3 separate regions of the Homo sapiens genome follow, and regions 1 and 2 are each linked to region 3. Evidence: promoter capture Hi-C in 16 types of primary human blood cells and fetal thymus (Javierre and others, 2016). All regions are on one chromosome and are shown on one strand. Each heading gives the region's core, a stretch centred on a gene start or on the middle of the fragment in contact. The rest is flanking DNA. Distances are from core to core; before and after follow the strand shown. Region 1 overlaps LOC124902957 (a long non-coding RNA gene). Region 2 overlaps CAND1 (cullin associated and neddylation dissociated 1). Region 3 holds the start of IFNG (interferon gamma).

The links. The method cuts DNA at HindIII sites, captures the fragments that hold promoters and counts their contacts. A CHiCAGO score of 5 or more calls a contact.
Region 1: a fragment that was not itself captured here is called in contact with the fragment with the promoter of IFNG in region 3 in 3 of 17 cell types (M2 macrophages, total CD4 T cells and naive B cells); the score reaches 8.0 in M2 macrophages.
Region 2: a contact is called between a fragment that was not itself captured here and the fragment with the promoter of IFNG in region 3, in 1 of 17 cell types (total B cells). The highest score is 5.4, in total B cells.

What each region holds. Positions count from the first base shown.
Region 1 is chr12:67,349,758-67,352,801 of GRCh38, reverse strand. It overlaps LOC124902957 (a long non-coding RNA gene), which reads right to left. Exons shown (of 2, transcript XR_007063354.1): 2 at 122-3,044. It also overlaps the pseudogene MRPL40P1. Among named protein-coding and RNA genes, the nearest start is that of CAND1, 82 kb to the right of the region's middle. The HindIII fragment of the contact is 2,227 bases long and covers 143-2,369 here.
Region 2 is chr12:67,316,037-67,319,561 of GRCh38, reverse strand. It overlaps CAND1 (cullin associated and neddylation dissociated 1), which reads right to left. Exons shown (of 15, transcript NM_018448.5): 15 at 1-3,525. Among named protein-coding and RNA genes, the nearest start is that of CAND1, 48 kb to the right of the region's middle. The HindIII fragment of the contact is 2,032 bases long and covers 806-2,837 here.
Region 3 is chr12:68,157,917-68,161,076 of GRCh38, reverse strand. It overlaps IFNG (interferon gamma), which reads left to right and starts at 1,337. Exons shown (of 4, transcript NM_000619.3): 1 at 1,337-1,575; 2 at 2,818-2,886; 3 at 2,982-3,160. The coding sequence starts at 1,462. The HindIII fragment of the contact is 12,450 bases long and covers 1-2,009 here.

The DNA.
Region 1 (3,044 bases), core at 7-2,506, 810 kb after region 3:
ATCTCATGAGAACTCACTCACTACCAGGAGAACAGCAAGAAGGAAACCTGCCCCCATGATCCAGTGACCTCCCACCAGTCCCCTCCTCCAATTCAACATGAGATTTGGGCAGGAAAAGAAATCCAAACCATATCATGAAGCTTTAATTGAAATGTTTGATTCTTCAAATAAATTACTTTCAAGTCAACCCAAGTGGCGTACAACTCTTGTAAACAAGTTTTCTAAATTTTGGTCACATTTTATTAACAAGTATTGAAATTTTAAATCAAGGCATTCAACAAGTGGAAGAACAAAAACCTTCAGCTTGCAAAACTTTTTAGAGAATTAAAGTTATTGAAAACAAAACTTACAGAAGAGCAAATGAAATTTGTCTATACAAAAAAAAAGGATGTGAACAAATGTTAACAATACAAATTTAAACAGGATACAGGATTTAATTTTGAAATTCTATAATTGCACTTTGGAATATTTCAACTTGAAGAGTCTTTTGATGGAGCTCCTACGTTTATTCAGATAAATTGGCATTCTGTTCCAGAATAGAATGGAATAGAGTTGAGAAGTCTACATTTTCACAAAACCTAAATTTGGTGAAATGCTCCAAACAGTCATAAAGACAACGTTTTTCTTCCTTTTATTTTTTTTTCTTTTTTGATTAAACATGTCTTTATTATCAGTATGCCTGATTCTGTGGAAAGCCGACTGGAACCCTGGTCATTCTGACTCTCGGGGCCTCATGTTCCAAGGTTGGCTGCTGCAACTCTCTCTTGAGCTCTACCTGTGTGTACATCTTGGTGATGTCATTGTACCTGCCTTTGGGGGGCTGGTAGTTAGAGACCCATAGTGTATAATCTGGACCTTCCCATTCAAAGGGGAACATGCTGCAGTCCCACTTGATGGTCTCAGTGGGGAACTCAGGGGACTTGAGTGGTAGCTCCTGCAGAGCTTCCTGCTGGGTCCCCAGCACAGCCTTGATGGTGTCCCTGTCCATAGTGTGCTCTCGCTGCTTGTACAGAGACCACTCATCAGAAGCAGAGCTCTCCACTCACTCTCCTCCAAGGAGAGCTCCACCTGAGGCCACTGGCTTGCTTTATCCAAGAACCTCACAAGGCTAATAAAATCTGCAACAAGAATGAGCTCTTGGCTAGCCTTTTCCAGTTTTCATATCTTATTTTTCAAGCAGCCCTTTCCTGCTTGGTCTTTTTTAGAATTCACCTTCTGCTCTCGAAGAGGTTCTGCTCTCACAGGAATGAGTTCGTAGGAGGACAACACTGAAGCTCGCTGGTGGGTGCCTCAAACCTGCTCCAGAAGCCACTGGGTAGGCACATAGTGCATGCCAGCTCACAGCCTAGCACTAGGACTAGTTGGCAGCCTGGCCCTGAGAAATATTGATCTACAAGATTTGTCTTATAGAAGTGCATGTCAAAGAAAGGCATTCCAGATTGAAAGAAAAATATCTAGGCTAAAATGTTTACCCATTTTAATATATTTTAAAAGAGAATTGGGAATATCTTCTATTTAGCCGCATTTGTTGTGAGCTTACTGATTACCTCACCACTGACAGAGAGAATATATTCTCATTAAAAATAGAATTTTCATCTAGAAGTAAATATATCAAACATTTTCCATTTATATATCATAAAATTATATTTTGAAGATTAGAGGCAATTTTATTAAAATTTTGGAACCAAATTAGGGAAAAAAGCATTATTTACTCAAAGAATAAAGAAAGAAAAGAAGGGGAGGAGGAAGAGAAACAATGTCATAGGCTTAAAGGCAGACCAAACTAAGAAACTAAGTAAAATACAGTACTATGTTTGAAGAGTAATTATTACACTTGTGTTTTTTGAAATATTCAATCAATATATCTGCTTTAATAATTTTTTATTTTTTGTTTTTATTTTTGATCTTTGTTTTTTATTTTTGCTTTAATATTTTTAGAGAGACCTTTTAAAACAGTTTTAATGGAATTGTTTTATATGCTTAACAATAACATAAAACCAGTTTGTTGAACAATAAGTAAATATTTCAAAACTCATATAATGTTAATTTTTTAACAACTCATTTTCAAAATTGTACCAGTTTGGTTAGTAAGTTAGATTCTCATCTAAGCTCAAACTAAGTGCAGCCAGCATGGCAACTTATGGGTTGAATGGAAGTTGTTTAGACCACACTGAAGGGTTCTGATTATATCCTGATGGTTGGAGGATGGAACAAGGTGCACGAGCAGAGAGGTAGATGAAGCTGGAAATGCAGATGCCAGGTCCTCACCTGTACTTCATCCAGAGCAACTCAGCCTATATTTTATTTACATATTGAATTTCTGTGTAAGTTCTAATTTGAAGAAATGGTTCCATGACTAAAAATAAGCTTGAGACCACCACTGTGGGCAATGAAGAGTCAGGGAAGAATTTTAAGCAGGGGAGTGACATGATCGTGTTTGCATTTTTAAAAGTCACTCTGGCAACAGGAGGGAAAATGGACACTTATAAAAAATAAACACCTAGAATATGTGGGTTTAGCACATGCATACAATACTTCTTTGCATTAAGATTTAACGTCATGCCTGAAAGGCCTTCTTTAAGACTTTTAAGAAAGTCCAAAATATTGTTTCAAAGCCCCTTTGTACAAGGATCTGCACATTTAATTATGATTAGAATTTCATAAAAAGTTCATTTCTTTAGATGACCTAATTTGATTTCAATTACAAATCAACAAGAACTATATTACATAACAGTGTTTTCATTTTTGACATAGCTGCCTAGATGCTCAGAACTAAAACATTTAACTGCAGCAACTGATTTATTCTAGGAACTCAAAATGCAAATTTTTCCTGTATTTTTTTCTTTGTTTTGTTTTGCCTTTTTAAAATAGCCATTTCAAATATCTTTTGGAAGTACTGACTCTAATAGTAAATAATAATTGTCATGATTATTATTATATAGGGCTTACATGTACCAGACAATGTTCTAAACTCTTTGTATATATAAACTCATTTAATCCTCACCAAACTAAATATGGAACTATCTCTGGCTTTGGAATTTGTG
Region 2 (3,525 bases), core at 572-3,071, 840 kb after region 3:
AGGTGCTTTTAAAAGGAATTTGACAATATTACGTGCCTGAAAATGGAGTCAGGTTCCAAACATGGGAGTTGGCCCTTGGATTATGCCCTCTTCATTACTTGTCCAGGGAAGACTTCCTGGAGTCCTTGACCTAACCTACAAGATGAAAAGCAGCCAGCTAAGTAAAACAAAAGAGAAGTCAAGTCATTCCAGGCAAAAGGCATAACTTGACCTTGAGCAAACTTGAGAAGGCAAGGGAAATATTTTATAGTTGTCAGAAGAAAAAGTTAGTCCTAGTTGTGAGAGATGCTGAGGCTGGTGGGGCAGGCAGTAACCAGATCTAGTTTGTACTTATCCTATGGGCAAAAGAGAGACAGTGAAGGATGTAGTGCAAAGATGAAATGGTCAGGACCATTGTTTTGCAGCTGTGTAGAGGAAGGACTGGGAATTAATGCCTTCTGGGTATTTTAATGTGGTGGTTTCCAAGGTGTGGCCTTGGGGAACAGCATTAGAACCTGGGAACGTCATAGAAATACAAATTACTGGTTTACTACAGCCTACTGAACCACAGCCTCTGGGTGTAGGGCCCAGCGATCTGTTTTAATAAGTCTTACAGGTGACTGTGATGCACACTCATTTGAAAACTATTCTTCTAAGAGCTCATTCCTCAAGACATTTCATCTCCTTTATGAATTGTTTCTGTCTCACTCATGTTGAATGGACCATACCCTCAATTATTAACCCCCAGTATCCCGTGTATACCTCTCATACAGCAGAATTTTATGGTGCTTCCTTATGTCAGTCTTCCCATGATAATCAGCAAGCTTCTTCATATCAAGTACAGTCTCAACAGCTTTTGTAGCCCTGGCAGCACCCTAAGCGCGTAATAAATTGGCTTGCTAAATGAATGAACACAAAAATAACGATTAGCAGGCATTTGCCGCAGTCCAGTCAATAGATAAGGAGGAAAAGAGGTCTTAAGCCAAAAGCATGAGAGATATTTAGGAAAGAGATATTTAGGAGATGGGCATGAGAGATATTTAGGAAATAAAAGGGACAGAATGCTAGTAAGAGTTAACAATTATATTACTTAGTATGTCCCAGGTACTGTTTTAAGTGCTTTATACAATGTTCCTATTTAATCCTCACAATAACCCTATAAGGTGCAAATATTTTAATTCCCATTTTATAGATAGGGAAAGTTGAGGTTAAATTATTTGCCCAAGTCTAACAGCTAACAGCCAGGATTCAAACTAATATGATATATGATGTCTATCTATCTGTAGAGTCCTTGTTTTTTTTGAGACAGGGTCTCGCTTTGTCACCCAGGCTGGAGTGCAGTGGTGCATGCAATCTTGGGTCACTGCAACCTCCACCTCCCAGGTTCAAGCAATTCCCCTGCCTCAGCCTCCCACACAGCTGGGACTACAGGCATGTGCCACCACGTCTAGCTAATTTCTTTGTGTTTTTTTAGCAAAGACGGGGTTTCGCCATGTTGGCCAGACTGGTCTCGAACTCTTGACCTCAAGCAATCCACCTGCCTTGGCCTCCCAGAGTCCTTGTTCTTTATCATATTCTGCCTCCAAACTCTTGCTAAGTGAGGCTTTTAGATTTCCAGTTTGAATGACTGGGTAAATGGGATGCCATCAGCAAAGAGACAGGAAAAACCAGGGCAAGATGATGACTTCAGCTTTAGATATGCTGTGTTTGAGATACCTTTATGAGATGTATAGCAGGTGGTTGGATATAATAGTCTGAAACAGGGGCATGGACTGGGCTAGATGTATAGATTAAGAAACTGGCTGGGGGACGTGGCTCACGCCTGTAATCCCAGCACTTTGGGAGGCCGAGGCGGGTGTATCACCTAAGATCAGGAGTTTGAAACCAGCCTGGCCAACATGGCAAAACTCCATCTCTACTAAAAATACAAAAATTAGCTGGGCATGGTGGCACACGCCTGTAATCACAGCTACTTGGGAGGCTGAGGCAGGAGAATAGCTAGAACCCGGGAGGCAGAGGTTGCAGTGAGCCGATATTGCGCCACTGCACTCCAGCCTGGGAGACAAAGCAAGACTCCATCAATCTCAAAAAAAAAAAAAAAAAAAAAAATTAAGAAAGAAAAAAAAAGAAAAAAGAAATCAACAACATGTGGCTGGGCAAGGAGGCACTTGCAATAATCTCAGCAGTTTAGGAGGCCAACACAGGATTGCTTGAGCCCAGGAGTTTGAGATCATCCTGGACAAGGTCATGAGACCCCATCTCCACAAGGAAATAAAAAAATTAGCTGGACGTGGTGGCACACACCTATACTCCCAGCTACTCGGGAGGCTGAGGTGGGAGAATCACTTGTGCCCAGGAAGCTGAGGTGCAGTAAACCATGTTCGTGCTATGTACTCCAGTCCAGGCAACAGAGTGAGACCTTGTCTTAAACACAAAAACAAACCTGTGAGGCCATTTGCACTTCAGTTTCCCTTAAATATTGTTCACTAGGTATTTCAGCCCACACGTCTTCTCATTATATGTAATCCTTATTCTTTTAGGGCCATCTCATCCATTCTTATGGTTGCATGTTGTTGATTTCTTTTTTCTTCTTTTTGGTAGAGACAGGGTCTCACTATGTTGCCTAGAGCTGGTCTCCAACTCCTGTCTTCAAGTGATCCCCCACCTTGGCCTCCCAAAGTGCTGAGATTACAGGCGTGAGCTGCCATCTGGCCCTGAAGTACAATTCTTTACTATTTTTTTGAGAGCATTCTAGACTAAAATCACTTAATATCCATCAACCATTACTTACTGGCAATAGCAAATTAATTCCAATACTTCCTAATCTGGAAACAATGTCACTTTACATAGCATAAGCTTTCTGTCTTCTAAGACCTCAGCAAAATAATTAAACTTGCTAAAATCACCACTAGAAAGTTATGAAGAGGACAGGGTATTAAGATTCCAAAACAAAATTAGGTATTTCTGTCTACTAAATATCATTCTGAAACCTGACACACTGGCATTATAGGGTCCAAAAAAGTAAAATTATATGCATTACTCACTTCAGTAGTTTTTGGATTCAGAGCTAACTTTCTAAGTTACAAAGAGCAAAAACATGTTGCTGAAAGATCTTGCCTGAAACTACAGCAAAGGTGTTTACAAAATCTTTTCTGATATTCATAGGAAAACAAGCAATTTACTGTATTGGAAAAGGAAAACATATGATTTCATTTTGCATTTCCTTTAAGAAAACAGCCTTATCTGATGAGATTTGGGTAGCCTGTAGCCAAATACTTCCACTGTGTTCCACTTTTGCAACCAAAATTATCAAATGAATTTTATTTAAATGGAAAAGTCAGTTAAAACCAGAATATCCTTTGTCCAATCAGTCAATAAACTATTACCATACTGTCAATTTTCCATTCCATAAACAAGATTTCAAAAACAGGTATGAATCTGGGGTAGCAGTGGTTTGAAAATTAGGATTCAATTTAAAACAGAGCTAGAATCCAAAATTTACTTGCTGAAATGTTTAAGGTCTTTAATTTCAAAACACTTACTAAG
Region 3 (3,160 bases), core at 88-2,587:
TCATAAATAAATTACAAAGGAGGAGAAAGAATCCTATTTTTTTTTGTATCTGAAAGACAAAGAAATAAAAAGTTAAAAAGATTCTCTGTTAGTACTGATTATTTGGAACAATAAATTGTTTAGAGCTATGCTGTTCAATATAGTAGCACCTAGCAGTATGTGCCCATTAAGCGTTTGAAATACGACTAGACCAAATTGAGATGCACCGTAGGCTTAAAATATACACTGTATTTCTTTCCTTTTTTCTTTTTTTCTTTTTTTTTTTTTGAGACGGAATCTTACTCTGTCACCTAGGCTGGAGTGTAGTGGCGCGATCTCGGCTCACTGCAACCTCCACCTTCTGGGTTCAAGCCATTCTCCTGCCTCAGCCTCCCTAGTAGCTGAGATTACAGGCATACACCACCATGCCTGGCTAATTTTTTTGTATTTTTAGTAGAGATGGGGTTTCACCATATTGGCTAGGCTGGTCTCAAACTCCTGACCTTGTGATCCACCCGCCTCAACCTCCCAAAGTGCTGGGATTACAGGTGTGAGCCACTGCGTCTGGAACTCCCCCTGGGAATATTCTCTACACTGTATTTCAAGGATTTAATATGACAAAAAGAATGTCAAATACCTTATTAACAATGTAGTATATTGATGCATACTGAAGTACTATTTGGGATATATTGGTTTAAATACAATATATTTTAAAATTATATTTACCTTTTAAAAAAACTTTTATTAATGAGGCTACTAGATCATTTAAATTTACCTGTGTGGCTTGTATTGTATTTCTACTGGGCAGTGCTGATCTAGAGCAATTTGAAACTTGTGGTAGATATTTTACTAACCAACTCTGATGAAGGACTTCCTCACCAAATTGTTCTTTTAACCGCATTCTTTCCTTGCTTTCTGGTCATTTGCAAGAAAAATTTTAAAAGGCTGCCCCTTTGTAAAGGTTTGAGAGGCCCTAGAATTTCGTTTTTCACTTGTTCCCAACCACAAGCAAATGATCAATGTGCTTTGTGAATGAAGAGTCAACATTTTACCAGGGCGAAGTGGGGAGGTACAAAAAAATTTCCAGTCCTTGAATGGTGTGAAGTAAAAGTGCCTTCAAAGAATCCCACCAGAATGGCACAGGTGGGCATAATGGGTCTGTCTCATCGTCAAAGGACCCAAGGAGTCTAAAGGAAACTCTAACTACAACACCCAAATGCCACAAAACCTTAGTTATTAATACAAACTATCATCCCTGCCTATCTGTCACCATCTCATCTTAAAAAACTTGTGAAAATACGTAATCCTCAGGAGACTTCAATTAGGTATAAATACCAGCAGCCAGAGGAGGTGCAGCACATTGTTCTGATCATCTGAAGATCAGCTATTAGAAGAGAAAGATCAGTTAAGTCCTTTGGACCTGATCAGCTTGATACAAGAACTACTGATTTCAACTTCTTTGGCTTAATTCTCTCGGAAACGATGAAATATACAAGTTATATCTTGGCTTTTCAGCTCTGCATCGTTTTGGGTTCTCTTGGCTGTTACTGCCAGGACCCATATGTAAAAGAAGCAGAAAACCTTAAGAAATATTTTGTAAGTATGACTTTTTAATAGTACTTGTTTGTGGTTGAAAATGACTGAATATCGACTTGCTGTAGCATCTCTGATAGGCTGTCATCTCTTGTAGGCAGTCATTTTGAGATTTGGTGTTATTTTGTTAATTATTGACTAGATGAGTTCCTTGACTAAATAATCTAGATATTGTTTTAACCTTCTGCTCAGTTTGTATAGAGACTTAAAAGGGATTTATGAATTTTCCAAAAGATGGGCATAATATGGGTATGAAGCATAATGATGTTAATAATTTTGTGGTGGGAACTCATTCAGTTGTGATAGTCAAGGAGTATGCAGATTGAAAAAAATGATTGGTTATTAGTTTTTGACTTCTCAGACTCTAAGGTCAAGATTAGCATTAAAAAGGTAATAGGAAATGTTTACAAATTAAAGTCAAAAAGGTCCTTAAAGCTTTGGCTTAAAAAAATAACTGATAGGTGATTTTCTCCAAAAAGTGATTTCAACATTCTGCTTCTCTATCTATATTACTTGTGAAGTATTCCGGAACTTCGTTGCTCACTGGGATTTTGGAAGAATTATGATTCTGGCTAAGGAATGTTTAAAAATTTTAAGTGAATTTTTTGAGTTTCTTTTAAAATTTTATTGATGGTTAATGAAAAGTTTTTACATTTTAAATATTTCATTATTTGTTTAAAACTTAGCTGTTATAATTATAGCTGTCATAATAATATTCAGACATTCACAATTGATTTTATTCTTACAACACAAAATCAAATCACACACACACACACACACACACACACACTCGCACATGTTTGGAACTATCTTTTAAAGCTCGTATAATAATACCCTACAGGAAGGCACAGTAGATGTAATAGAAACCTGTACCATTGGGGGGCAGTATTTTATAGTGGGGTGGCTTTGCTGTTTTTTGTTTTTGTATTTTTTAGCCTAGCTTGAAAATACTTTCTTTAGCTTACTATAGTTTTTGGGACCTTTGGAGTATCAGCTTTGTTGAGCTCATTTGTGACATTGCAATTTAATGGTTATATTGGGAAATAAAAAAGCTAAAAGAACATAATAGTCTTTGTCTATATCTCACATAAGCCTTTTGGGAATACTTATTGTTAGAACTAAGCAGAAGAGTTGAAAAGGAAATCAGTGAATATTGTCACATCTGAGTTCAATGAAACTTGAAATATATTTTTAAGGCAATTTATGGGCTAATTGTAAACCAATTTTTTCTTTTTTTTTTTTTAGAATGCAGGTCATTCAGATGTAGCGGATAATGGAACTCTTTTCTTAGGCATTTTGAAGAATTGGAAAGAGGTAAGCTGAATATTCCCATTTGGCTAATTTTCCTGTTGCTTGCTTTCTGATGGATAAATTCACATCATCCTCTGTTTGTGCTCTTTCCTTCCAAGGAGAGTGACAGAAAAATAATGCAGAGCCAAATTGTCTCCTTTTACTTCAAACTTTTTAAAAACTTTAAAGATGACCAGAGCATCCAAAAGAGTGTGGAGACCATCAAGGAAGACATGAATGTCAAGTTTTTCAATAGCAACAAAAAGAAACGAGATGACTTCGAAAAGCTGACTAATTA